7 separate regions of the Homo sapiens genome follow, and all the other regions are linked to region 6. Evidence: promoter capture Hi-C in 16 types of primary human blood cells and fetal thymus (Javierre and others, 2016). All regions are on one chromosome and are shown on one strand. Each heading gives the region's core, a stretch centred on a gene start or on the middle of the fragment in contact. The rest is flanking DNA. Distances are from core to core; before and after follow the strand shown. Region 1 holds the start of METTL3 (methyltransferase 3, N6-adenosine-methyltransferase complex catalytic subunit). Region 2 holds the start of ZNF219 (zinc finger protein 219). Region 3 holds the start of CHD8 (chromodomain helicase DNA binding protein 8). Region 4 holds the start of CHMP4A (charged multivesicular body protein 4A). Region 5 holds the start of TINF2 (TERF1 interacting nuclear factor 2). Region 6 holds the start of RBM23 (RNA binding motif protein 23). Region 7 holds the start of CBLN3 (cerebellin 3 precursor).

The links. Contacts are between HindIII fragments. The CHiCAGO score rates a contact against its expected background, and 5 or more counts as called.
Region 1: a contact is called between the fragment with the promoter of METTL3 here and the fragment with the promoter of RBM23 in region 6, in 5 of 17 cell types (activated CD4 T cells, total CD8 T cells, non-activated CD4 T cells and 2 more). The highest score is 13.3, in activated CD4 T cells.
Region 2: a contact is called between the fragment with the promoter of ZNF219 here and the fragment with the promoter of RBM23 in region 6, in 3 of 17 cell types (fetal thymus, naive CD8 T cells and M0 macrophages). The highest score is 7.4, in fetal thymus.
Region 3: the fragment with the promoter of CHD8 here is called in contact with the fragment with the promoter of RBM23 in region 6 in 4 of 17 cell types (naive CD8 T cells, total CD4 T cells, non-activated CD4 T cells and 1 more); the score reaches 12.3 in naive CD8 T cells.
Region 4: a contact is called between the fragment with the promoter of CHMP4A here and the fragment with the promoter of RBM23 in region 6, in 6 of 17 cell types (total B cells, monocytes, non-activated CD4 T cells and 3 more). The highest score is 10.0, in total B cells.
Region 5: the fragment with the promoter of TINF2 here is called in contact with the fragment with the promoter of RBM23 in region 6 in 2 of 17 cell types (total B cells and non-activated CD4 T cells); the score reaches 5.5 in total B cells.
Region 7: a contact is called between the fragment with the promoter of CBLN3 here and the fragment with the promoter of RBM23 in region 6, in 2 of 17 cell types (monocytes and erythroblasts). The highest score is 5.6, in monocytes.

The regions. Positions count from the first base shown.
Region 1 is chr14:21,509,470-21,513,184 of GRCh38, reverse strand. METTL3 (methyltransferase 3, N6-adenosine-methyltransferase complex catalytic subunit) reads left to right here and starts at 1,845. Exons shown (of 11, transcript NM_019852.5): 1 at 1,845-2,061. The coding sequence starts at 1,962. RefSeq lists an enhancer at 1,563-1,802. The HindIII fragment of the contact is 13,792 bases long and covers 1-3,715 here.
Region 2 is chr14:21,096,986-21,101,000 of GRCh38, reverse strand. ZNF219 (zinc finger protein 219) reads left to right here and starts at 2,346. Exons shown (of 5, transcript NM_016423.3): 1 at 2,346-2,689. It also overlaps a transcript of TMEM253 not described here. RefSeq lists enhancers at 2,164-2,664, 3,424-3,925. The HindIII fragment of the contact is 7,101 bases long and covers 1-4,015 here.
Region 3 is chr14:21,454,549-21,458,336 of GRCh38, reverse strand. CHD8 (chromodomain helicase DNA binding protein 8) reads left to right here and starts at 2,214. Exons shown (of 38, transcript NM_001170629.2): 1 at 2,214-2,305. LOC124903283 (a long non-coding RNA gene) reads right to left here and starts at 1,940. Exons shown (of 2, transcript XR_007064064.1): 1 at 1,860-1,940. RefSeq lists enhancers at 814-1,365, 1,642-1,691, 1,702-1,751, 1,366-1,917, 1,782-2,471. The HindIII fragment of the contact is 18,756 bases long and covers 1,543-3,788 here.
Region 4 is chr14:24,211,632-24,215,296 of GRCh38, reverse strand. It overlaps CHMP4A (charged multivesicular body protein 4A), which reads left to right and starts at 1,809. Exons shown (of 6, transcript NM_014169.5): 1 at 1,809-1,888; 2 at 3,468-3,617. The coding sequence starts at 1,858. NEDD8-MDP1 (NEDD8-MDP1 readthrough) reads left to right here. Exons shown (of 7, transcript NM_001199823.3): 5 at 698-805; 6 at 902-987; 7 at 1,146-1,354. The coding sequence ends at 1,273. It overlaps MDP1 (magnesium dependent phosphatase 1), which reads left to right. Exons shown (of 6, transcript NM_138476.4): 4 at 698-805; 5 at 902-987; 6 at 1,146-1,354. The coding sequence ends at 1,273. RefSeq lists enhancers at 1-505, 1,660-1,954, 1,591-2,090, 1,518-2,326, 2,281-2,400. The HindIII fragment of the contact is 5,751 bases long and covers 1,117-3,665 here.
Region 5 is chr14:24,241,373-24,245,263 of GRCh38, reverse strand. It overlaps TINF2 (TERF1 interacting nuclear factor 2), which reads left to right and starts at 2,641. Exons shown (of 9, transcript NM_001099274.3): 1 at 2,641-3,123; 2 at 3,270-3,374; 3 at 3,488-3,589. The coding sequence starts at 2,932. RefSeq lists a silencer at 1,707-2,001 and enhancers at 2,193-2,492, 2,663-2,922, 2,993-3,212, 3,873-3,891. The HindIII fragment of the contact is 13,864 bases long and covers 1-3,891 here.
Region 6 is chr14:22,917,668-22,921,295 of GRCh38, reverse strand. It overlaps RBM23 (RNA binding motif protein 23), which reads left to right and starts at 2,147. Exons shown (of 14, transcript NM_001077351.2): 1 at 2,147-2,297. PRMT5-AS1 (PRMT5 antisense RNA 1) reads right to left here and starts at 1,840. Exons shown (of 2, transcript NR_120600.1): 1 at 176-1,840. It overlaps PRMT5 (protein arginine methyltransferase 5), which reads left to right. Exons shown (of 17, transcript NM_006109.5): 17 at 240-767. The coding sequence ends at 392. RefSeq lists a silencer at 1,773-2,072 and enhancers at 2,333-2,402, 2,493-2,602, 2,673-2,842, 3,331-3,628. The HindIII fragment of the contact is 7,114 bases long and covers 1,719-3,628 here.
Region 7 is chr14:24,427,026-24,430,917 of GRCh38, reverse strand. It overlaps CBLN3 (cerebellin 3 precursor), which reads left to right and starts at 1,250. Exons shown (of 3, transcript NM_001039771.3): 1 at 1,250-2,163; 2 at 2,513-2,632; 3 at 2,932-3,892. The coding sequence starts at 1,864. The coding sequence ends at 3,129. It overlaps KHNYN (KH and NYN domain containing), which reads right to left and starts at 964. Exons shown (of 8, transcript NM_015299.3): 1 at 799-964; 2 at 1-204. The coding sequence starts at 187. RefSeq lists enhancers at 1-233, 378-557 and a silencer at 588-1,127. The HindIII fragment of the contact is 4,979 bases long and covers 533-3,892 here.

The DNA of each region.
Region 1 (3,715 bases), core at 596-3,095, 1.4 Mb after region 6:
GCCATGCCAGTCAAACTATTTTTTGTATTTTTTGGACAACAGCGTATGGCATCATGTAGACATTGGATAAGTCAGTGATTCCCGAAATGTTTCCATTCAGGGAGCTCCATTAAAAAAACAAAACAAACAAACAAACAAAAGGCCAAGCCGGTGGCTCATGCCTGTAACCCCAGCACGTTGGAAAGCCAAGGCAGGCTGATGAGCTAAGGTCAGGAGTTCAAGACCAGCCTGGCCAACATGGTGAAACCCCATCTCTATTAAAAATACAAAATTAACTGGGCATGGTGGCAGGTCCCTGTAATACCTGCTACTAGGTAGGCTGAGGCAGCTAGAATCCAGGAGGTGGAGGTTGCAGTGAGCTGAGATCACACCACTGCACACCAGCCTGGGCAGTAAGAATGAAACTCTGTGTCAGGCCAGGCTCGGTGGCTCACGCCTGTAATCCCAGCACTTTGGGAGGCTGAGGCAGGGGGGCAGATCGTAGGGGCAGATCACGAGGTCAGGAGTTCGAGACCAGCCTGGCCAACATAGTGAAACCCTGTCTCTACTAAAAATAAAAAAAATTAGCCAGGTGTGGTGGCACGCGCCTGTAATCCCAGCTATTCGGGAGGCTGAGGCAGGAGAATCGCTTGAACCCAGGAGGCGGAGGTTGCAGTGAGCTGAGACCACGCCATTGCACTCCAGCCTGGGTGACAGAGTGAGTGAGACTCCATCTCAAAAAAAAAAAAAAAAGAAAATGTGTCAAAAAAAGAAAGAAAGAAAGGATTGTAGGAAAAACCACCACCACCAACCTTGTATTTAAGTTTACTACACATACAGAAAAGTGCACACCAAAATGTTCAGCTCAATTACATTTCACAAACTGAACACACTCATGCAGGTAGCTCTCATAACAAAAAACACAACGCAACCAGGACCTCAAAGCCCTCTTAGTGTCGGAACCCGATTTTAATAGATTACACGTACTTTGTAAATTTAGCCTAAGAGAGAGATCACGTATTTGAAGACCTCTCGGATTTTTCCTTCATCAGCCCTCCCCACTTCCCCACGCCTCGTCAACACAAAGAAGCATGCCCGCACCCACCACCGCCCCCTCCTCACCTCAGATTGGGGACCACCGTTGTGTTTTTTATTTTTTTGTAAATGAACGCATGGAAACAAACCAACACCACCTTCAGTGGAAAAGGTATGTTAGTACCAAACTGTCAAAAGGAACTAGTGATCCTTCATCTTAAAAATCTGTACTATGGCCGGGTGTGGTGGCTCACGCCTGTAATCCTAGCACTTTGGGAGGCCAAGGAGGGCGGATCACGAGGTGAGGAGTTCGAGACTGGCCTGGCCAACACAGTGAAACCCCGTCTCTACTAAAAATACAAAAAATCTGCCGGGCGTGGTGGCGGGCGCCTGTAATACCAGCTACTCGGGAGGCTGCGGCAGGATAATCACTTGAACCCGGGAGGTGGAGGTTGCTGTGAGCCGAGATCGCGCCATTGCACTCCAGCCAGGGCGACAGAGTGAAACTCCGTCTCAAAAAAAAAAAAAAGAAAAAAACCCCCAAAACTGTACTATATGGTGTTGCTCTCTACGAGTGCTACTTTAACACAAGTCAACTCTCAGGACTCCTCTCCGAATATTCAACATGGCCGCATGCGCGTCTATAAGCAACATGGCCGCTCTGCCAGTCACCAACATGGCAACCACAGCCTCACTGTGTCCGGAAGCATGAGAGAGCGGGTATGAGGACTATACCGGCCGCTCTGCCAACACCTAACGTGGCTCTTTATAGCTTCCAAGAAAGCGCGACACCGGAAATGACTTTTCTGTCTTGCTCAGCTCCAGGGGTCATTTTCCGGTTAGCCTTCGGGGTGTCCGCGTGAGAATTGGCTATATCCTGGAGCGAGTGCTGGGAGGTGCTAGTCCGCCGCGCCTTATTCGAGAGGTGTCAGGGCTGGGAGACTAGGATGTCGGACACGTGGAGCTCTATCCAGGCCCACAAGAAGCAGCTGGACTCTCTGCGGGAGAGGCTGCAGCGGAGGCGGAAGCAGGACTCGGGGCACTTGGGTGAGGCACTGGGCTGTTGGGGCCGAGGCTCAACCGGGGAGGACGGGCGGGATCCCTAGAGAAAAAGCTCCAGAGTCACTGCCCTTTACCAAACGGCCATTTCTATAAAGCCTCGTACATTGGTACTCCCTCTCCACCTTCAGCAGCAGACGTTCGCCCTTCTGCAAGTAGTTCGCGGTTCCTCCTCACGCTGGGCCTCGGTTCTTCCAGCTCACTTTTACCGGACGGACGCTTGAGCCCCACCCTCGTCCGCCTTGCCCACTCCTCTTCAGACTGCGAGGACGTCGCCTTTGTGAGGCTGCTCAGCCCCCTATCCCGCGAAGCAGCAAGAACCCCTTTTTGTTGCTGCTTTGGCGCTTTGTTCCCTCAGTTATAACGACTGTTTTGTAGTGGTCATTTCTTGGCAGCTGTGGGTACAGTAAGCGAGGAATGAACCTTTATATCCGCAGTGCCCAATTTAGTGGCCCGTACAGAGTGGCACTGGGTGTTTCTGAATGAGTACCCCTACCGGCATTGACTTAGCCATTTACATACCTAGCAGGAATCTGAAAACATTTGTGTTTGGTTTCCAAACTTTTTCTCTTCTCCTGTTGCCCCCGTGTCACGATCATAAAACTTGAAGGAAATTTAAAAGATTAAATTCACTGTTATCCACTCCCTACCCTCAGGACAAACTCTGAATTATTTAAGGCAAACTAGTAACAAAGCTCTGCAAAAATAGTGACTCAGTATCACCTTTGTGGTAGATTGTTCCAATATTTGTCAGTATCTTCAACTGCATCTCTAAATCTTGTCTAGATCATGTTAGGTTCATGTGCTCGTATTCTGGCCCCTAGAAATAGAAGATGCACTGGCAGGATCCTCCCACCTAATTAATTACCTTTCTTGAGTATCTACAGTGTTCATGGGTCTAATTAGACAAAAATAAGGAAGAAATTGCCCCTGTCCTCAAGAAGTTTAAAAAGCATAGGATTCAAGGGGAGACGCTTACAAAAAGTGAGGAATATGATAAGATATATGTACGAAACCAAATGAATGAATCTACAGTCTGTACAATGAAGAGAAGTAACAAGAGCTGGTGTAGGTAGTGAAGCCATCAAAACCATCATAGTGGAATTGGCACTTGAATTTGGCCTTTATGGCTATATAGGACCTAGATAATTAAAGAGGTAAGAGGGGAGGATAGTGGAGTAAGAAGTGCAAGTCATATGGTCAGGCAATAATTAGTAGTCAAGTCTCAGAGTAGTTCCTGAATTACCTAAGAGGGAGAATTTTTTTTCCCTTGCTCTAGAAACTTCATTGATTTATTTATAGATACAATTTTTTGTTTTGTTATGTTTTTTCCCCTATTCTTTGGTTTCCTGTTTTGAAACTTTTTAAAAATGTGCATAAATGATGCCAACGACTTTTTTTGCTTTTGTTTTTGAGATAGCGTCTCTCACCGTTGCCCAGGCTGGAGTGTAGCAGTCCTCCCGGCTCATCCTCCTGAGTAGCTAGGACTACAGGTGCATGCCACCATGCCTGGCTAATTTTTAACTTTTTAATAGAGATATGGTCTCATTATGTTGCCCAAATTTGTCTTGAACACCTGGCATCAAGCTGTCCTCTTGCCTAAGCCTCCCAAAGTGTTTGAATTACAGGTGAGAGCCACCAT
Region 2 (4,015 bases), core at 1,097-3,596, 1.8 Mb after region 6:
CCGGCCTCAGTTCACTCCACAAGATGTCTAGCCCGACCTCACTCTGTTCCCATTTCTCATTACCCTCATTTCTGCCCATCCTGGGTTCCTTTTCTGGTTTCACTTACCTCATCCCCATGGACACTATCACTCTGGACCTCAATTCCCCCTCATTTCCATATGATCTTACTCCTTTCTTTGGCTTCCTCCTCAAATTATGTGCCCTTCCCTAGAGATCCTACTTTCTGTCTGGATTGGTCCCCTGTCATTACTACTTGCAGCTTTGCCCCCAGACCAGGTAAGGTTGAATTCCAGGGGCTTTCTTGCCTCTCACTTTCTGGACAGTCTCCCTTCCTTCTTTCTTGAAGGTTTTACTCTGAACTGAACACTGACTCAATGGATGGGGGGGACCCTGTTTATGGTGGGGATTGTTTTTGATTCAATGATAACCTGCAACTGGACATTATCTATCTATCTATCTATCTATCTCATGGTCCTCAAATAGTGAGTCTTGGGAAGGATGCTATTGCAACAATTAATATTTTTGAGAGAGAAGGTGCCTCATAGCCAGACAGACCTGAGCTGGAATCTTAGCTCTGCTGCTTCTCCATCTGTGTGATCTTGGATACATTATTATTATTATTATTATTATATTATTGAGACAGGGGCTCACTGTCACCCAGGCTGGAGTGCAGTGGCATGATCATGGCTCACTGTAGCCAACACCTTCTGGGCACAAATAATCATCCTGCCTCAGTCTCCCAAGTAGCTGGGATCACAGGCACATGCCACCATGCCTGGCTAATTTTTAAATTTTTTGTAGAGACAGGGTCGTCTCACAATGTTGCCTAAGCTGGTCTCAAACTCCTGGGCTCAAGCCATCCTCCCTGCTTGGCCTCCCAAACTGCTGGGATTACAGGTGTGGGCCACTGTGTCTGTCCTGATAGATATGTTTTTCTACCTATTCGCACCTCAGTTTATTCACTGATAAAAGGGGGCTAACAATATGACTGTGAAGAGTTGTTGATTCAGGGTGGGTGTTTAATAACTATTAGTGGTGCTGATGAGGTCACACCGATAAGTCTGATGCCCATACACTAAAAGTGTTATTCAGAAGGAAGCTGGGGACACATTTCTACAGTCGGAAGCAGAACCAGCTGGGCCCAAATATACTCTATAGATCAAAACAAATCCCAGATCTACCTAGGTGCCCTTGGCAAGTTGCTTAATCTCTCTGTTCCCTTATCTATAAAAGGAAGTTAATAATACCAGTCTCAAGGGGTTGCTTTCAGCATGGAAGAGAGCTTAGCCCAGTACCTGGTACACAAGTGCTCAATGTTAGTGGCTATGATCATCATCACTATTATTATTTCTTGTTGTTGACGATAAGAGGAGACTGCGCCAGAAGACTCTAGAAGTTAGTACGAGGAGGGAGGCAGGGTCCTGGGAGGCAAGTGATCTTTTGTAAGCCACTCCTGCCCCATCAGTGCTGTGCCAACATCGGCGGGTCATTGTATCTACTCTTTTCTTTCCCGGGGAGTGGGAGTCACGTTTTAAAGAGATCCAGAAAACTGCTGTGTGTCTACTCCTCCTCAATTCCCACGTGCATTGATTTTATTTGGTGGCGATGTGAGATGTTGGGCTTGCACTGAGGATCCCCGAGCCTGCAGGCCACTGGGGAAACAGACTTCCTGAAGCCTCATTTTTCTTACTTGTAAATGGGGGCTAATTTAATTATAGAGGGTTATTGGAAAGATTATATACTATTAGATAGGTGAACAGGCATTCAGTAAATATTGACTAAATCTGAGTATACTACTTACCAGTTTGTAGTCTAGACTACAATCGCCTGGAAGGAAGGTACCACTTCTTTCTCATCCCTCACAGCGCTGAGCCCAGTGCCTGGCACTTAGTAAGCACTCAGTAAATATTTGTTGTATTGAAGAGCCATTAAAGTGACTTGAGGAATGGAAAATAGAATTCGAGAGGAAGGCGCAGGAATTGTTTATCAAGAACGGAAAGGACCGAAGAGTAACTTTAATAATGTTTCTTATACGGCCGACATTAACTATCTCTATAATCGCCCCTCCTCCTCCCCCAAAAGAGAGACAGAAATTGTAAGGGAGAGGCTTTGAGATAAAACCCCAGGAAGAACTTCCCGAGTCTGTGCATGTTGGGGCAGAAAGAGCGGCAGAGCCAACTCCTTCCCTGGTATGTCCGGGTTTAGGGAGGGAGGGGCAGTGCTGCTTGGAGGCTGGGGGAAGGACGAGATGACCTTTCAAAATCTCTTCCAGTCTCCTGTTGGAATCCTCTGTGCGCCCCACCCCCGCTCCCTCCCTTCCTCCCTCCCTCCGACAGCGCCCCCCGTCTCCAAACCGCCCGCACCCCGCCCCTGGCGGCCGCCTCTCGCGGCTCCCGGGGTCCCCAGCTCCCTGTCCCCGGAGCCAGAGCCCGGCTCCCGCGCGGCTCCCAGCCCCGCCGCGCCGCCCCCCGCATGCTAATGGCCGGGCCGCCTCCCGCCGCACACAATGCGGGCCAGGGCCGGGGGCGGGGGACCGGGGAGGGGGCGGGGGCCGGGCCGGGGGCGGGGGGGCCGGGGCCCGGCGCATCTCCCCCGGCCCCACGTAACGCTGACGCCCGCGCCGCCGGCCCGCCGCCCGCCGCCGCCGCCGCCGCCGCCGCCCGCTCCGCCGCCGCCCGCCCGGGGCTCGTGAGTAGCCGCTCCCCCGACTCCCGGGCCCCCCCGTCCGCCACCCGGCCCCCGCCCCCGGCCCCCTCCCCCCTCCCGGAGGGGGGGCCCGCTCAGCGCGCCCGGCTCGGAGCAGGTGCAGGGGGCGGGGGCGGGGGAGGGGCGCCGGCTCGGCCCCAAGCAAACTTCGCCCAGAGCTCCTGGGGGGGCGGGGTGGGGGTGGCGGCCTCGGAAGCCTGGAGAGCTGGGGGGCCCCAAGGGAGGGGGGGCCAGGTGGAAGAGCTGGGGGAGCAGACACCAAAGGGAAGGGCCAACGGGGGGGATGTGGCGGGGGAGGTGGCGGGTGTCTTTGTAGGGGCCCGAAGGCAGGGCGCGAGGGACCTGGGGGTGAGGGGCGGCAGAGCCGCGAGCCTGAGTGGATGTGCACCCCCCAACCCCCGGCCCAGGTAGGGCTGGTGGGGGAGGGGGAAGGAGCCCAAACTCTCTGGAAGCACGGGGTGGCGGGGGAGGGGAAAGGATGGGGGGTGCTTCCCTCTTTGCGTCCCAAACAAAGTGTCACAAAGAGCTCGGCCCGCGGCAGCAGCGGAGGCGGCTGTAACTCAGCTTTTGTTCTCCTGGCCGGGGGTAGCTGAGCCTTGGCCTCCCTATCTCCCAACCCTGCCCCCCATCATCCTTCTGGCTTATCTTCCTGGGGAGGGGTCTGGGGTGCTGCTGGAAAAACCTCTCCGGCAGGATAGCAGGTCCTACCCTACTTAGCAATCTATTTCTGGGAGGGGGATTTTCCCAGAGGCTCCCTTGATCGCCCCTACCTCCCAGTCTGAGGACCGAGGCTCACGTGGGTGCTAAGACTGACTTTTCTAGGGTCAGCTCCACTTAAAGGGACTTAGGGCTGGCTACATGCCCCTCTTTCCCAAACCCAGGTCTTCCAGAACTTTCAAAATCAAAATCGGGGTTGCGTTAGGACATGCCTCTGGGATAAGATTCCCCATGGTGGGATGGCAGCAGGTGAGCAGGTGTGCCTTCCTCTCGCCTCCTGCTGTACCTTTGAAGTCCATGGCTGAGGTTCCATGTCCCTAACTCAGGAGAGTGAGGACAGAGGGAAGGAGGCTTTACCAAGATCTCAGTCTAAAAAGGCTGGTGAGCTGCAGAGTGGAGCGGGTTAGGAGGAGCTATCTGAGCAGTGAGGTTCAGAGGGCCATGGAGAGGAGACCATAAAAGTGAACTACTGGTGTGTCTGTGTGATCAAGGTAGTCTTTTGAACGTAGACCGCCCTAGAAGCTCCCTTTCCTTTTAACCCCATCTAGTGCAGTGGTAATCATAATTGTTAGCAGATTTGGGAGGTCTAGG
Region 3 (3,788 bases), core at 965-3,464, 1.5 Mb after region 6:
ACTTTTTTTTTTTTTCCATCTATAGTCTTACCAATGTCCATTGGTTTTTGAAGGCCAAGACCATTGGAAATCATACTAAGATCAGTGTAGGTACCAGAAATTGGTTCAGGCACACCTGTTCCCATTTCCATAATATCTATAGCTCCTTTGATGACAGGTCTATTCTGTACCAGATGGATAATAGGCTCTCATCCTAGAAACTATTAATAATTAAGGTTATATCTGTATATGCATTTACAGACAAACACATTGTTCTGATAAATCTTAATACTAACATCAAATTGATATAATGGCAGCAGTAGCCAGGAGAGAATTTGGTTGACAGATTTTTTTTTTTTTTTTTTTTGAGACAGAGTTTCCCGCTTGTTGCCCAGGCTGGAGTGCAATGGCATGATCTAGGCTCACCACAACCTCCGCCTCCCGAGTTCAAGTGATTTTCCTGCCTCAGCCTCCTGAGTAGCTGGGGTTACAGGCATGCACCACCACACCCAGCTACTTTTGTATTTTTAGTAGAGACGGGGTTTCTCCATGTTGGTCAGGCTGGTCTTGAACTCCGGACCTTAGGTGATCCACCCGCCTCGGCCTCCCAAAGTGCTGGGATTACAGGCGTGAGCTACCGCGCCTGTCTTGGCTGACAGATTTTGATACACAGGGAAATGTATTTGGCCAAGTCTTTTTTTTTTTTTTTTTTTTTTTTTTTTTTTTTTTGAGATGGAATTTCGCTCTTGTTGCCCAGGCTGGAGTGCAGTGGTGAGATCTTGGCTCACCACAACCTCCGCCTCCTGGGTTCAAGCGATTCTCCTGCCTCAGCCTCCCGAGTAGCTGGGATTATGGGTGTCTGCCACCACGCCCGGCTAATTTTTTTTTGTATCTTTACTAGAGACGGGGTTTCACTATGTTGGCCAGGCTGCTCTCGAACTCCTGACCTCAGGCGATCCACCCGCCTCAGCCTCCCAAAGTGCTGGGATTACAGGCGTGAGCCACTGCGCCCAGCTTAAGGCCGAGTCTTATCACTCATATGACTTCTTGATGTCTCTGAGCTCCTATCATGTAAGACCATGCAATTATGTTACTCCTTGAGAAATTCCTTTAATAATCTGGAAGGATTCCCTCACTCACAACTTTAAAAAAGATTTCTTGGCCAGGAATGGTGGCTCATGTCTGTAATCCCAGCACTTTGGGAGGCCGAGGTGGGCGGATCACTTGAGGTCTGGAGTTCGAAACCAGCCTGACCAACATGGCGAAACCCCGTCTCTACTAAAAATACAAAAATTAGCTGGGCGTGGTGGCGGGAGCCTGTAGTCTCAGCTACTCAGGAAGCTGAGACAGGAGAATTGCTTGAACCCGGGAGGCAGAGGTTGCAGTGAGCCGAGATCGCCCCACTGCACTCCAGCCTGGGTGACCGAGCGAGACTCCATCTCAAAAAAAAAAAAAAAAATTAGGCCTTTAAAAAAAAAAAGGAATTCCTCCTTAAGTCCTGTTCTTGATTTCCAACTGATTCACAGTGCCCCTACTGGAAAATTTGCAGTGAATCCTAAAGCTTAGTAGCACCTATAATAGATACATGTCCTGATATTTTGAGTGAGGTGTCCATAAAGGATTACCCTAGGAAAGTGCAACTTTCACTCTCATTAGAAGAATTAATTTTTGCTTATTTGATTTGTTAAAATTGCTTTACTCCTACAGTTAAGTGAGAGGGTGGTGGTGGTTGTTGCCCGTAACCACATACGGCATTACTCCAGGGTTTCACGTCGTGACTGAGGGGCCTCCTAAGTGTATACAGCAGAGTATGTTCGGGCTGGACCTAGATAGTCGGACAGAACACCGACAGGGTCTTCACATTCTTTAAGCACTCTCACCCAGTCCCGGAGTCCGAGCCAAGATGGCTTCCCAGAAGTAGGTAACTAAGTGTTGTTTTAGTTCACAGCGCCCCCAATGGCGGGGGTCAAAAAAAGATGCCGAGGGGCCTGGCCGCCTGTGAACTGAGTCGTCAGAGGCGAGCCGCCGCCAGATTTTATTTTCAATCAGGCATATTTGTGGTCGCCTACGTACCCTTCTCATCCTCCTAGGACCTTCCACCCTCAAGAGACTTCCTGGATGGCGCTCACACTAGCTCGCTGGAAGAGGCCGGGCTTCGGTGCTGCCATTGGCGGATGGGAGCGCAGGGGGGCGGAGCCTAGGGAGAATGGACTACTAGCAAGCTAGATTGAGGCGAGGGCTGGCCATGCTCCGCCGGAAGGCGCCTTGTTCTCGGAGAGGGTGAGTTGAAACGCTGCCTGGAAAGGAAGTACCAGGACTTGCACAGGTAGGCTTCCCGCTCGCACCCGCTCCTCAGTGCTGGGCCAGGAGTCAGCAAAAGCTGAGGCTCTCAGAGATTTGATTTAAGTAACTCCTTCTCCTCTCTCTTCCACCCCCTGCTCGCCCCCCAGTTGTGAGGGATCAGGTGCGGGGTGATGCTCCGGACTGAACCAGTCTCCTTTGTGAGAGGCCGGGGGAGAGGGTGGCTGCCGGGCCGCGGGGTCCGAGCCGGGCCGAGCCGCGAGGGACTGCTTGGGACGCTGTGGAGTTTTCAGGGCTTGTCATTGCATTACTGGGCGTAGTGTAGATTGGAGGCGGCGCCTTGTTCTCCTCTCTTCAGAGAAGGGAAAACTCCTCGGCCCCGTTTGGTTACTCCATACTTTGGATTCAGAAATAGGTGGTTAGGGTTTTCTACTTCTTTTTATTTTTTTTTCTTCTGTATTTTAATAATAAAGGTGGGTAGGAAAGCATGGGGTAAGCGTAAGCAGATTGTTACTCATTCTCAGGTGTAAGTTCTGTGGGTCTCCTGGCAGTGAAGAGCAGGCTGTTGGAGAATGTTTAGAGATGGTGGGAAGAGAGGAGCTCAAGCCTTGCATCCTCCTTGACAGGTCTGCAGAGCTCACTGGTTTTCCGTTGCATTATGTAAACTCGTCACTGATAGAAGACCCTTCCCCCTGCTTTGGAACGAATGCAGTTTATTTACCTGTCTCTAGTGTCGCAGGGAATTTCCCTGCAGCAGCTGTATAAATGCAGCAGCCTCTTGCTTTTTAAGGGACAGTCTTGAAGCGGTTAGGGTCTTCACAGAAAAGGTATATAGTGGACCCATCTCTTTCGTATGGCTAAGCAAAGTGAGCCAGAAGTCAAAGATTTAGAACTCTGTCTTTTTCTATTAAAGAATAAACAGCGGAGCGCCCCAAACACAAGCCAGGGGAGCTGCCTTATCAGTGTCTGCTGCATCCTACCATCACAGCGGCGTCTACAGATCGTTTCATCTCCATGCTTTTCTGAGTTTGTCGACTCAGTCAAGGATTCTCAGCCTAGGTTAGCATATGCTGAAGTCATCTGGTGTGGGGCACATTACATATCGAAAGTGAGTTTGTGATTTGAATCGTGTCCTGTGTTAGTTAATTAGATCGTGTCTTCTGCTTAGGAATTTCTTTTGTATTGGTCATCCAATAGGTTTCAGAACAAATTCTAGTCAACCTCATAGAGCAAGATATGAGAAACTTATTTCAAGTACTTTGGAATTATCCCAACCCTTAAAAAAAGAGTTATGATAAGAAAAACATTTTCCATGTAAGAAGACCTTCTGCTGCAAGAGAGGCGTGTCAGTGGATCTGAAGGCAAGTGAAAGATATTGGCCAAAGAGAGAGTAGGCAAGTTTGAAGAGACAGGCTTAGGAGAAAGTTTAAAACTGAAATAGTGGCTCACGCTTGTAATCTCAGCACTTTGGGAGGTGGAGGCGGACGGATCACTTGAAGTCAGGAGTT
Region 4 (3,665 bases), core at 560-3,059, 1.3 Mb before region 6:
CTGATCAACATGGTGAAACCCCGTCTCTACTAAAAATACAAAAATTAGCAGGGCGTGGTGGCACGCACCTGTAATCCTAGCTACTCGGGAGGCTGAGGCAGGAGAATCGCTTGAACCCGGGAGGCGGAGGTTGCAGTGAGCTGAGATGGAGCCACTGCACTTCAGCCTGGGTGACAGAGTGAGACAATGTCTCAAAAAAAAAAAAAAAAAAAAAAGTGGGGCCAGACACAGTGACTCACACCTGTAATCTTAGCATTTTGGGAGGCCTAGGTGGGAGGATCACTTGAGCCCAGGAATTTGAGACCAGCCTAGGCAATAGAGGGAGACCCTATCTCTACCAAAAAAAAAAAAAAAATTGTAGTGGCGTGCACCTGTAGTCCCAGCTACTTGGGAGGCTGAGGTGGGAGGATCACTTGAGCCCAGGAGGTCGTGACCACAGTGAGCCGTGATTGGGTCGCTGCACTCCAGTCTGGGCAACAGAGCTAGACCCTGTCTCAAAACAAAAGCTAAAACATTGGCCCAGCACCAATTGTGTCAAATAGGAAGGCAATGGAGTTAAACAGAGGCTGAGGATGCCTGTCCATCCCGGAAAAACAGCAAGTTGATTTCCCTGGTTATACTTACTAACTTTGCTTAATAAGTTAACGTAGCCCTGGCCCTTCACTTTGCTAATCCCATCTTTTACACCGTTTTGCAGGACAAGTGAGATAGAAGGGGCCAACCAGCTACTGGAGCTCTTTGACCTCTTCAGGTACTTTGTTCATCGGGAAATCTATCCAGGCAGCAAGATCACACACTTTGAGAGGTATGCGGAGATAAGGGAGGAGCAGGGTGAGAAAGTATCAGAGAGGCCTGGGAAACCAAGATACTAGCTTGGTTACTCCTGCCCTGTCTTGAATAGGTTGCAGCAGAAGACTGGAATTCCTTTCTCCCAGATGATCTTCTTTGATGATGAGAGGCGGAATATTGTAGACGTCAGCAAACTGGGTACTGAGTGATGAGGAACAGCCATTTGGGGTCCCTAGGAGGGATTAGGTAGATACATACAGGTTGGATAGTTTGCCCTATAGGTGGCACTCACAAAGGTCAGAGTAATAATGGAGAACCCTGAAAGCTTAATGAAATGTGACTTCTTATCTTTCTAGGTGTTACCTGCATTCACATCCAGAATGGAATGAATCTTCAAACTCTAAGTCAAGGGTTAGAGACATTTGCGAAGGCCCAAACTGGGCCTTTGAGGTCCAGCCTTGAGGAGAGCCCATTTGAGGCCTAAACTGAAAGGAAATCAAGAAGGCATTTTCAGGTGCATTTGTAATTTATTAAAGTTCATCTGTGTGTGACAGAAGAGATTTTACCCACAGTGTGGGGAGTTTCTATTTTTCTAGCCTGTGAAATGGGGTTGGTTGTCCTGAGGTGCAGAGACCAGAATGTGAGACATTAGACTGCATCAGGTTTGCCATCTAAACTTAGGGCAACCCCAAGTGCTTGAACCTATACCACCCCACTTTCCTGAGCTCTGTAAAGAGCATGAAGTTTTCCCACTGACCCCATACACTGAGGTGCCATCACACTGCACATTTCCTTCCGGAGAACAAGCACGTACTCAGGTGGAGATAGAACTGTCTTTTTACTTAATAGAAAATGATGTGGCAGCTTTAAGAGGAGCGCGTCGGTCTGGGGCTGGTGGCTTGGGTCACGTGACACCGGTGGTCTCGTTTGCGCCTCTTGATGTCGCGGCGGCGCCCTGAGGACGGATTGGGCAAGGCTGGTCCCTGTGTGATGAGACATCACCCTCCCAGGAGCAAGGCGGAAGTCTGGAGGACGCTGAGGGGCGGAGGCGGGAGAGGCGAGCTCGCGATGAGTGGTCTCGGCAGGCTCTTCGGGAAGGGTGAGCCAGGGTGGGACTGGCCAGCCAGGAGGCGCTGGCTGGTGCAGGGGAAGAGGAGACCCCGGCGAGATTCGGCCGGACCGCTGCGCCGGGCAGGGGAAGAGAATCAGGAGACAGGCTGACTGGAAAACCCCGGCGGCCGATGGCGGAGCAAGGCTCATCGCCGGTGCCAAAAGGCACACCATGTCGGGGCGCCTTGTTCCCGTCCGCCGTCCTCCCCCACTCTCAGAGGGAAGAACTCAAGATCTGGGAGGGGACTTGAGTTGAGGGCGTGGCGATCGTGCTGACTCCCACTGTTCAGGCTTGAAGACGAGTTTCCTGCTGTCTTCAGCCATTTTCAAAACCTTGTTCTATAATACTTTGTGCTGGGCAAGAGGGATCTAAGGTGAAGAAGAAAGACTGCCTTCTTAGCCCGGCGCGGGGGCTCACGCCTGTACTCGCAACACTTTGGGAGGCCGACGTGGGTGGATCATGAGGTCAGGAGTTTGAGATCAGCCTGGCCAATATGGTGAAACCCCGTCTCTACTAAAAATATAAAAATTGGCCGGGCGCGGTGGCTCACGCCTGTAATCCCAGCACTTTGGGAGGCCGAGGTGGGTGGATCACCTGAGGTCAAGAGTTCGAGACCAGCCTGGACAACATGGTGAAACCTTGTCTCTACTAAAAATACAAAAAAAAAAAAAAAATTAGCTGGTTGTGGTGGCACGCGCCTGTAGTCCCAGCTACTGGGGGAGGCTGAGACAGGTGAATCGCTTGAACCCAGGAGGCGGAGGTTGTAGTGAGCCAAGATTGCACCAATGCACTCCAGCCTTGGTGACAGAGGGAGACTCCATTCTCAAAAAAAAAAAAAAAAATTAGGTGGGCATGATGGTGTGTGCCTGTAGTCCCAGCTACTCAGGGAGGCTGAGGCAGGAGAATCACTTGAACCCGGGAGACGGAGGTTGCAATGAGCTGAGATCATGCCACTGCACTCTGGCCTGGGCAACAGAGCGAGACTCTGTCTCAAAAAAAGAAGTCCTGGCGCGGTGGCTCATGCCTGTAATCAAAACACTTTGGGAGGCCGAGGCGGGCAGATCACCTGAGGTTGGGAGTTCGACACCAGCCTGACCAACATGGAGAAAGCCTGTCTGTACTAAAAACACAAAAAATTAGCCAGGCATGGTGGCACATGCCTGTGATCCCAGCTATTTGGGAGGCTGAGGCAGGAGAATTGCTTGAACCCAGGAGGCGGAGGTTGAGGTGAGCTGAGATCACGCCATTGCGTTCCAGCCTGGGCAACAAGACTGAAACTCTGCCTAAAGAAAAAAAAAGAAAGGCAGCTAGGAATAGTAAAAAGAATATTGGTTTTAGAACTCATACTGCCACATCTTGATTCCTGCACAATCTCTTATTAGTTGTGATTTTTAACATCTTTGTGGTTGTTTTCACATTTTTAAAGTGAAGAGATAGCACGTTCATTGTAGAGATTTGGGGATTAGCAATAACACAGTCAGGTCTCTAGCACATACTATGTATTCAATGATTGGTGGCTAATATTTTTCCTTCACAAAATTTGGGCCTACTCCACTGGACTCCTCAGGGAAGAAGGAGAAAGGGCCAACCCCTGAAGAAGCAATACAGAAACTGAAGGAGACAGAGAAGATACTGATCAAGAAACAGGAATTTTTGGAGCAGAAGATTCAACAGGAGCTACAAACAGCCAAGAAGTATGGGACCAAGAATAAGAGAGGTAATGAGGGAAACAAGCCTATGGGGAGGGCCCAGATGGGAAGCAGGT
Region 5 (3,891 bases), core at 1,392-3,891, 1.3 Mb before region 6:
CTGTGATGGGCTCATCAATAGACTGGACATGGCCAAAGAACATGGTGCGCTTGAAGAAATGTCAACAGAAATTTCCAAAGCTGAAATGCAATGAGAAAAAAAAATGAAAAAGAACAGAATATCCAAGAATTGTAGGACAATTATAGAAGCTGTAGCATACACATAATCAGAATGGCAGAGAAGAAAATAAAGGAACATAAGAAATGTGGCAATAATGACTGAGAATTTCCCCCAAATTAATGACAGACACAAAACACAGATCCAGGAAGCTCAGAGAGCAGCAAGCAGGATAAATACAAAAAACAAAAAATGAAGATAGACTGGGCTGGGCAACACAGAGAGACACCCCTTCTCTACAAAACATATTTTTCTTTTTTTTTTTTTTTGTAGAGTCAGGGTCTCACTGTATTGCCCAGGCTGGTCTCAAACTCCTGGCCTCAAGTGATCCTCCCACTTCAGCCTCCCAAAGTTCTGGGATTACAGGCATGAGCCACCACACCCACCAAAAAAGATTTTTTAAAAAATTAGCCAGGGACTGCGTGCAGTGGCTCACGCCTGCGATCCCAACACTTTCGGAAGCCGAGGTGGGAAGATCGCTTGAGTCCAGGAATTCGAGACCAGCCTGGGCAACAAAGACTTGTCTCTACAAAAAATAGAAAAAAATGAGCCAGGCATGGTGGTGCATGCCTGTAGCCCCAGTTACTTTGGAGGCTGAGGCAGGAGGATCACTTAAGCCCAGGAGGCAGAGGTTGCAGTGAGCCAAGATCACTGCACTCCACCCTGAGCAACAGAGCGAGACTGTCTCCCCACCTCAAAAAAAAAAAAAGAGCCGAGCGCGGTGGCTCACGCCTTGTAATCCCAGCACTTTGGGAGGCCGAGGCGAGCGGATCACGAGGTCAGGAGATCCAGACCACGGTGAAACCCCGTCTCTACTAAAAATACAAAAAAGCCGGGCGCGGTGGTGGGCGCCTGTAGTCCCAGCTACTCGGGAGGCTGAGGCAGGAGAATGGCGTGAACCCAGGAGGCGGAGCTTGCAGTGAGCTGAGATCGCGCCACTGCACTTCAGCCTGGGCGACAGAGCGAGACTCCGTCTCAAAAAAAAAAAAAAGTAAAACAACAGAAGTTCATATCTACATAAGAAAGAAAGAACATTAGAGAAGGAATAAATAAAGGGAAAAAGGAAGATAACTAGAATTTCACACATATCCAATTTGGGGTACTTTGGGACTGGGTGTTTCTTGGGCAGTCGAATGTGCGGATCAGCTGAGACTGATCCGGGGCGGAGACAAGGATGTGTGAACCATTATCTCTGGGAATGGAAGACATGGGCTAAAGACGGAGCAGTTTCACTAAATCCTTGTAAGGTGGTCAAGGCAGGCAACTAATCCAGCCAACAATTAAGGAGTGTAAGCTGTGTGTTAGGTTCTGTGCTTGCTGATGGAAATGAGAGGCACCAGGAAGCCTGTGGAAGAGACAGTCAAGGAGAGCAGTCAATTACATTAGGGGGCTGACAAGTTCAGTGCACAACAGAATCCTAAAACAAGAAACTAATTTGTGTGTGTGTGTGAGACCCCGTCTCACTCTATCACTCAGGCTGGAGTGCAGTCACTGAAGCCTCAACCTCCCTGGCTCAAACAATCCTCCCAACTCAGCCTCCTGAGTAGCTGGGACTACAGGCGTGCCACTACGCCCGGCTAGTTTTTTTGATTTTCAGTAGAGACAGGTTATCGCCATGTGATCCAGTCTGGTCTGGAACTCCTGGGCTCAAGCGGATCGATCCTCCCCTCTCGGCCTCTCAGAGTGCTGGGATTACAGGTGTGAGTCACCGTGCCCCCAGCCTGTATTCTATTTCTTCTTCTTCCTCTTTTTTTTTTTTTTTTTTTCTTTGAGAGAGATTCTCCCTCTGTCGCCCAGGCTGGAATGCAGAGGCAAGATCGCGGCTCACTGCCACCTCCCGTCTACTGGGTTCAAGCGATTCTCCTGCCTCGGCCTCCCGAGTAGCTGGGATTACAGGCGCCTGCCACCACGCCCAGCTAATTTTTGTACTTTTAGCAGAGAAGGGGTTTCACCATGTCGCCCAGGCTTGTCTGGAGCTCCTGGGCTCAAGTGACCCTCCTGCCTCGGCCTCTCAAAGCGCTGGGATTAGACACAAGCCACCACGCCCAGCCTGTATTTTATTTTTTAAGGGCGGGCGCCCTCTTCTGTTTTATAAAAGGAACAGTCGAATTCCTACTGGAAGCGACGCGCGCAGAGGGGAAGGCTTTGTAGACGCCGGCTCGGGTCTGGAATTTAAAGAACTAAATTTCGATGGGTGAAGACAGTGGGAAAGGGCGGTGGCATGATCCTCGTTTTACAGACTAGGAAGTCGAGCCTCACGGGAGTGACGGGGCTTCTCCGCAGGCTCCGCGAAGAAAGCAAGGCTGGGAGGACCCAGACGAACGGCCACAACAGCCTCAGCGGCCACGACAGCCTCAGCCGCCAACTCATGTCAGCCGGCAGAGAGTGCAGGAAGCGGGCAGCTACAGCTCCGCTGGGGCGTGGCCTTCTGACGCACCGTCACGGTTCCCTCTGTGGCCGCCCATTGGCTCCCTCTTACCGCCCTTTTCCGGGGCAAGGGAAGCTAGTAGCGGAGCCGGAAGTGAGGCACCCTCGGGCTCGAGACAGCGGCGACGTTTAAAGCTGAGCGACCCAGTGCCACTGGAGACGGTCAGCTTCTCCACTCAGGCTCCTCCAGCCCGAGCCAGAAGACCCCCTCCCCCAGAATTCTGGGGGCCGATGGAAGGGAGCCGAGTCAGATCGCGAGGTACCCAGAGCCGACAGACCGGAGCGACAGGGAGTTGCCAGAAGCCCCGCCCCTAGGAGTGATCGGAAAGCCTCACCCATCCGGGTGAGGAACCCGGAGGGACCGCCTCCGGGCGGAGCCCGCCGACCATGGCTACGCCCCTGGTGGCGGGTCCCGCAGCTCTACGCTTCGCCGCCGCGGCTAGCTGGCAGGTTGTGCGCGGACGCTGCGTGGAACATTTTCCGCGAGTACTGGAGTTTCTGCGATCTCTGCGCGCTGTTGCCCCTGGCTTGGTTCGCTACCGGCACCACGAACGCCTTTGTATGGGCCTAAAGGCCAAGGTATTGGAGCAAGTAGGACCTGGAAGGGGAAAGAAAGAAAGGGGCGGGATGCGAGCACCTGACAAGGGCCCACAGCTTGGGGATGAGACTAGTTGGAAAAGGTCAGCTTGCCCCGAAGTGGGGATTCTGAATTCAGTACCGTACAGGTGGTGGTGGAGCTGATCCTGCAGGGCCGGCCTTGGGCCCAAGTCCTGAAAGCCCTGAATCACCACTTTCCAGAATCTGGACCTATAGTGCGGGATCCCAAGGCTGTGAGTAATCCCCGGAACAAGCCCTGACCCCAGTTACACTTGGTGCAGCAAAGTTGCTCCTCCTGTCTACTGGATGTTGGTGCTAACTTCTCTGTCTTCTGTATCCTCAACAGACAAAGCAGGATCTGAGGAAGATTTTGGAGGCACAGGAAACTTTTTACCAGCAGGTGAAGCAGCTGTCAGAGGCTCCTGTGGATTTGGCCTCGAAGCTGCAGGTGAGACTGGTTTGAAGGCTATTATGTGGCTATTTTCTCTAACCCATTTTTTTTTTTTTTTGAGGAATCTTGCTCTGTCGCCCAGGCTGGAGTGCAGTGGCACAATCTCGGCTCACTGCAACCTCTGCCTCCCGGGTTCAAGCGATTCTCCTGCCTCAGCCTCCCGAGTAGCTGGGATTACAAATGCCCAGCTAATTTTTGTATTTTAGTAGAGATGGGGTTTCACCATGTTGGCCAGGCTGGTCTCGAACTCCTGACCTCAAGTGATCCGCCCACCTCGGCCTCCCAAATGGCCAGGATTA
Region 6 (3,628 bases), core at 898-3,397:
TTTCTCTGATCTCCTAGACTAGGTTAGTGTTCCCTTTCATAGGTGTTTTTCTGACTCTGTACATGTTCACAGCTCTCACCACACCTTTGATTATTTGTGTTCTGATAGGCTTCAAATAACTTTCATGAGGGTTGGGACAGTCTTGTCATGTTTATCATTTTATCTCCACACCTACCTTAATACATTGCCATGTATAATTCATAGCTTCACCCTGAACCTTCCTGTCTTTCTTCTTACAGCAGCCCATAACGGTACGTGAAGGCCAAACCATCTGTGTGCGTTTCTGGCGATGCAGCAATTCCAAGAAGGTGTGGTATGAGTGGGCTGTGACAGCACCAGTCTGTTCTGCTATTCATAACCCCACAGGCCGCTCATATACCATTGGCCTCTAGCCCTGCGTGCCAAGTGTCCAGAGCCTTGGAAGCAGCTTCAGGTTCTGCTCCTGTAGTACAGAAGGTGCAGTACATCTATGGGCTGTGATTCCCCTTGCCCATCAGAGAGGAGCATTTCAATCTGCTTTCCTGCCTTACATCAAGGTGGGCAAGGGATTATAATTAATTGCAGGGCTCAAGCCACCAATCTATGAAGACCTCAGGCCAGGGGGTGAGGAATTAGTGCTGGATTTGAAGCTACGCACTCAGCCTCAAGAACTCCCTGGAATATCCCTGAGAACATGGGGTTTGAACGGATTTTCAGCCTTTTTCTGTTCTTGTTTTGATGGTTTTGTGTAAGAGGAAATACAAATAAAGTTATAGCCCTTTACTGCACGACCATGCTGCCCCCTGCCACTATTTTCCCACACCTCACTTAGACCCAGGCATGTTCAGATCTGTCCTCTTAGCCTATCCAAGACCCAAAGGGGCCTAGTTGTATTCCCTACTTAGGAAGCTGAGCAATGACTATTGTAGTCCTGGATATAGGCCTTTCTGACCAGCTACAGTGAGCTCTTGTCCATTAGAACCTACAGTTAGGCTTTTCTCTGGGGAGGAGGCATAGAGTTTGCCACCTTGGAAAAAGATGGAATAGTGAGTGAAGCCAGTTTCTCTTCTGTATTCTTGAGCTACTGCACGGGCAACTGGTTACCTCTCCTTTGTTACCTCTTGGGAAGACTGGAATCCATCCAGGAATCTCCAGCAAGAAGCTACCTGTTTTTTTTGAATAAAACCACAGGGTTACAGTTTGAAGTCCTAAGAGATCATCTAGTCCAATTTTCCATTTTACAGAGGGGGAGTTTGAAATGGGTACAATGATGTGATATTAGTATCCAAGTCAGAATTGGAAGTCAGGTCCTCCGACTCTGGCTCTCCCCATGTTATAACCAGCTACATTTTTGGTAGCTACAGTAGACCACAGAAGTGTCTAGGGGCTCCTGGAGGCCCCTGGAAAGTGAGGGTGGACATCAGTTCCTTCTTTCCGGTTAGAGGACTCAGTACTGCTACATCCAAGGAGTCACCTGAGAAACTTTCAAATTTACCCTTGCAGTGGGAAATGTGGGGGTACTGATTTGAACGGAAGTTATGACCTGTGGGAGCAGGCCATGACGATAGGGCAGAGTGTGGGCCAAGACAAGTCTGTGGCAAGATCTGCTTTTCCCTGGTCCCAAGCACCGAGGTCAGGAGAGGTGGTCGGGAAGGTTGTTTAGGTAGCCGGCTCAGAACGGGGATTTCGAGTTCAGCATCCCCGGACGTTAAACAAACGCCGCTGTTCTCTACAAAGCTTAACCTTAACGACCGACGTGACTCCTTCAGCAAATCCGAGTAGGGACGGCCAAGGATGTAAATTGTGCCTCCTCGTTGGCTCCGCCCATCGCACTGGTCTAGTCTACGCGAGCACCAGGAGTGGGGTTGGTGGCTTCTTCACTCCCGTTTTCAGTCCCGTTTTCCCCGCCCTCCGCAAGTCATTTAACCAATGAGAGAGTGATGGGCGGCTACCAAAGGACGCTTCCATTTTCTGGAGTCTCTGAGGTTAGCCAATCAATGGGAACTCGGTGGTTGCTAAGACGCATTTGAGTTTGCTCCACCCATACTTAGGACTTTAGCCAATGAGAACCTGTACTTTGGACGGTTGCCGCGAAACCAGTGAGGTTATTTCCAAAGCCGGGGAGTCTTGGCGCATGCGCAGATTGGGGAAGGTTCTGGAAGACGGCAGAGCTGCCGCCATTTTGCGGGAAGAGGAGGCTCTGTACCTGCAGTGCTGCTTTTCTTGCCTAGACTCTAGGAACTATCCGAGCTCCACTCCCCACAACATACTCAAAGGAACGGAGAGAACCGGGACCCCCCTGCGGGGACCCGGAACTGGTGAGAAACCCCAAAACCCGGTCCCCACCAGACGTCACCAATGCGTGACGTTGCTGCACGGCGCCTCCCCCCTGACGTCACGGGCAGAAAATGGCGTCACGAAGAGATTCAGGCGAACTTTTAACATTAAAAAAACCTTTGTTTGTTTTGACCTGGAAGTGTTAGCTACTTAAATGTAGCCCACTGCCACGATTTTAGAGTTGGGCACCCTCGTGGCTGTATCTTGCACCGATAAAGATGCGGTTTCTAGAATCCTGTGATTTTTCTTTCCGGGTCTCTGCAGCCGTGACACTTAGGGTCGCCCACACTGGAGAGGGAGCATCGACCCTCCGCGGCCTGAGAGGACACGCATCATCAGTTTCAGCCACTCGCACCACCATTCAGAGAGAGAGAAGGGAATTGAGCTTTCTTCCTCAATCTCTAGTCTGTCGAAGATTCATGTTCACTATGTTGACCTTTATGGGCTTTTCCCATTTAACTTTTTCAAGCACTCATTCCAGTAGGCGTATTATGATGCCACATATGAAGATTGAGCCCTGGGACACTGGCTCCCGCAGAGATTGTGCCAGTTGGTTGCCTATAGGACCTCTTTTTTTTTATTTTTTTAAGGCGGAGTGTCGCTTTGTCACCCAGGCTGGAGTGGAGTGGCGCGATCTCGGCTCACTGCATCCTGTCTCCCGGGTTCTAGCGATTCCCCTGCCTCAGCCTCCCGAGTAGCTGGGATTACAGGCGCCTGCCACAACGCCCGGCTAATTTTTGTATTTTTAATAGAGATGGGGTTTTGCCATGTTAGCCAGGCTGACCTCGAACTCCTGACCTCAGGTGATCCACCCGCCTCGGCCTCCCAAAGTGCTGGGATTACAGGCGTGAGCCACCGCGCCCGGCCTATAGGACCATTTTTTAAAGCTACACAACATGGGGAGGGTGGTCCTTCAAGTAGCTTTTATCGTTCTCATTGTTCCTCTTTTGTTAAGCTGCCTTCAGTTTGTAGGTGTTTGTGCCCAGCTAAGTGATCAGACCCTGGGGATGGCGCTACCATCACCCCTGGGGCTCCAGCTTTTCGTGAATTCTTCCCGAATTGGTCTGACAGTGGTTCTCTCTGCTCCTTTAGCAGTGGGGTCTATCTGTTGGCTTGTGCTATGACGAGGTCTAGGAACTGACGTGATTGTGGGTCTCTAATACTGTTTTTGGAGCAGGATGGAAGAAAACATACTCTATGTGGATGAGATTGAGTGGACCTTGACCCATAAGTTGGGACATGAAGAGAGCGTTTGAAAACTACCAACCTGGGCCGGGTGCAGTGGCTCACGCCTGTAATCCCAGCACTTTGG
Region 7 (3,892 bases), core at 1-2,500, 1.5 Mb before region 6:
CGTTTTCCTTGGGGCCCTCCAGCTGCAGCCAGATGTGGGGGTTGTCCGGACAGTCCTTCGGAAGGACGCTCACCCCCACGCTGAAGATGCGCTCCACATGGGGCTGCTGTTCCCGAACCTTGTTCTCAGCCTCCGCAGACACCGCAAAGCGATCTGGGGACGCGGGGCGGGCCCCCCAGGTAGGCATGGCTGCTGCCCCCAGCCCTGGAAGGGGAGAAGGCAGCTCAGAGCCTCATTGTACCCTCCATCCAAATCCTGGTTCCTGGGACTACACCAGCTATCAACAGGTCGCACCTAGTTAAGGCTCTGGTAAACAGCCCCAGGAGGTGACAAGCATCTGAGTCCACTGGAGGTAGGGAGGGTGTATGTCACGCAGGCCTCTCCGGAGAGGAAGTCCCGGTAAACAAGGCTGTCTATCGAGAGTGGGCGTCTGGGCTTTGGAAAAGGATGACCACAGTCCGGAGCAAGAAGGGTGGGGGGGCTCCAGCTCGGCCTGGAGGCCAGAAGGAGTCTCCTGGGGCACTCTGAAGCTTCTTAAGGACGAATCCTCAGCAGGGGATTGAACTAGGCTGTCCTCTGGGGGCCCTGGTCTGCCATTTCCAAGGTTCAAGCCACTCCCACCCCTCCCCCAGCCGTCCGCTGCCCCTCTCCGTCGGGCCAGGAGCACCGCCCAGGGCCCAGGGGCCGGGCCGGGCCGGGCCCGCCCACCGCGGACTGGGGCAGCCACCCCGGGCCGGGCCTACTCCGCACCGCGGCCCCCGCTCCCCGCTCCCGGGCGCGGTGGAGGGGCGCGCCTACCGCCTCCGCCGCCCGCGCCGGCTTCAGGTCCTCTCAGCGCCCGCCAGGCCCCCGCTTTGCCCGCGCCCCCAGCCCAGGGGACAAGGGCAGGGGGCCCGAATCTGGGCGGGCCTTCCCGGGTTCCTCACCCAGCGGGGACCTCTCTTGTCCACATCGCACGCAAACTGTTTCTTGAGTCACTTCCTGGCCTGGGGCGGAGTCAGCCCAGCTCCTCCCGGCTGCGCGCCCTCCTCCCAACCCCGCCGCCGCGCCCAGAGGCCCCGACGGGCCCGCTCGGCCTAGTCCCCTCGGCGGCTCCAGGGCTCGCCCCTTGCGCTTCTCACCAGCCCTCCCGTCTGTCTCCCGGCCCTCAGGGTCCTCGCGCATTCTGCGCAGTTACTTCTCGGAAAGGGGAACCATGCGTTGAAAGTTGTTTCCCGCGAATAAAGATGTGGCCGACCAAAGAGGCAGCGTGACTGGCCCACTGGTGCTCTAGGCCCAAGCACTTTCCACCAAAGCAATCGTGGCGGAGGGGGTAGGCGGGAGGCGGGAGGCGGAGGGTACCCGTGGTGGAGTACCCCTTTCTTCCAACAAACGGAAAGATGCCACGAAGAAGGGCTGTTGATTTGTGGGGGATTTTGAAGAGAGGAAGAGTAGGAGGAAGGGGTTGAGGGGCTGCCTCTGGCATATGCACACACTCACACATTCTGTCACACCCGTCACACACACATACCATGTTCTCCATCCCCCCAGGTCCAGCCCTCAGTGCTGTCCCATCCAGCAGGGCTGCCCTGAAGCTCTGGCTGCAGCCCTCCCGTCCAGTGGGCAGGCGGCTTCATCCCTCCTTTCTCTCCCAAAGCCCAACTGCTGTCACTGCATGCTCTGCCAAGGAGGAGGGAACTGCAGTGACAGCAGGAGTAAGAGTGGGAGGCAGGACAGAGCTGGGACACAGGTATGGAGAGGGGGTTCAGCGAGCCTAGAGAGGGCAGACGATCAGGGTGCCGGCGGTGAGAATCCAGGGAGAGGAGCGGAAACAGAAGAGGGGCAGAAGACCGGGGCACTTGTGGGTTGCAGAGCCCCTCAGCCATGTTGGGAGCCAAGCCACACTGGCTACCAGGTCCCCTACACAGTCCCGGGCTGCCCTTGGTTCTGGTGCTTCTGGCCCTGGGGGCCGGGTGGGCCCAGGAGGGGTCAGAGCCCGTCCTGCTGGAGGGGGAGTGCCTGGTGGTCTGTGAGCCTGGCCGAGCTGCTGCAGGGGGGCCCGGGGGAGCAGCCCTGGGAGAGGCACCCCCTGGGCGAGTGGCATTTGCTGCGGTCCGAAGCCACCACCATGAGCCAGCAGGGGAAACCGGCAATGGCACCAGTGGGGCCATCTACTTCGACCAGGTAATCCCCCTACCCCTGTCCAGGGGACCTGGAAAGACCCTGCAAGGACCTGGAAGCAACTGTCCAAGCCCACTTTGCTGTCTCTGAGGCTTTAAGAAAACAGCTTCCTACATCTTTCACTAATCTGGCCTATTGCCCCACCACCCCACCGACGGTTTCCCCTCCCTCCACCCATACGCAGCCCTCTCCTTGCCCCTTCTCACCATTTCTTTTGAATCTGTTCACTCCTATTCACTCCTACTTGCCACTCCTTCTATTCATTACTCACTGCCCCTGCCCCTAGTCCCCATGGTACCCCTGAGCCATGGGCATTTCCTGAGCCCCACTCAGCAGGCTCTGCTTCCCCCAGGTCCTGGTGAACGAGGGCGGTGGCTTTGACCGGGCCTCTGGCTCCTTCGTAGCCCCTGTCCGGGGTGTCTACAGCTTCCGGTTCCATGTGGTGAAGGTGTACAACCGCCAAACTGTCCAGGTGACCTCAGCACTGGCCCCCATCCCCGGCTCAGGAGGGTGGGGAGGGGGAAGAAGGGGAGCCCAGCTGACCTCCGGGTGGACTCTCCATTGACCTGTGTCCTGGAGGCCAGGACCAGGGGAGGAATGGGCCTGCCTTGCATTGAGTGTGGAGGATGTGCAGAGTCCAATGCTGGCCGCCCCTCAGCCCTCCCGGGAGAGCCCATTAAAACCCAGCTTCCCAAGAGGAAGCTCCTGGGAAAGTGGGGGGTCCTGAGCTAAGGGCTGGGGAATGGGGGCTAACTGGGCTCCCCTCCCCAGGTGAGCCTGATGCTGAACACGTGGCCTGTCATCTCAGCCTTTGCCAATGATCCTGACGTGACCCGGGAGGCAGCCACCAGCTCTGTGCTACTGCCCTTGGACCCTGGGGACCGAGTGTCTCTGCGCCTGCGTCGGGGGAATCTACTGGGTGGTTGGAAATACTCAAGTTTCTCTGGCTTCCTCATCTTCCCTCTCTGAGGACCCAAGTCTTTCAAGCACAAGAATCCAGCCCCTGACAACTTTCTTCTGCCCTCTCTTGCCCCAGAAACAGCAGAGGCAGGAGAGAGACTCCCTCTGGCTCCTATCCCACCTCTTTGCATGGGACCCTGTGCCAAACACCCAAGTTTAAGAGAAGAGTAGAGCTGTGGCATCTCCAGACCAGGCCTTTCCACCCACCCACCCCCAGTTACCCTCCCAGCCACCTGCTGCATCTGTTCCTGCCTGCAGCCCTAGGATCAGGGCAAGGTTTGGCAAGAAGGAAGATCTGCACTACTTTGCGGCCTCTGCTCCTCCGGTTCCCCCACCCCAGCTTCCTGCTCAATGCTGATCAGGGACAGGTGGCGCAGGTGAGCCTGACAGGCCCCCACAGGAGCCCAGATGGACAAGCCTCAGCGTACCCTGCAGGCTTCTTCCTGTGAGGAAAGCCAGCATCACGGATCTCAGCCAGCACCGTCAGAAGCTGAACCAGCACCGTATGGGCTAGGGTGGGAGGCTCAGCCACAGGCAGAAGGGTGGGAAGGGCCTGGAGTCTGTGGCTGGTGAGGAAGGAAGGAGGGTGTATTGTCTAGACTGAACATGGTACACATTCTGCATGTATAGCAGAGCAGCCAGCAGGTAGCAATCCTGGCTGTCCTTCTATGCTGGATCCCAGATGGACTCTGGCCCTTACCTCCCCACCTGAGATTAGGGTGAGTGTGTTTGCTCTGGCTGAGAGCAGAGCTGAGAGCAGGTATACAGAGCT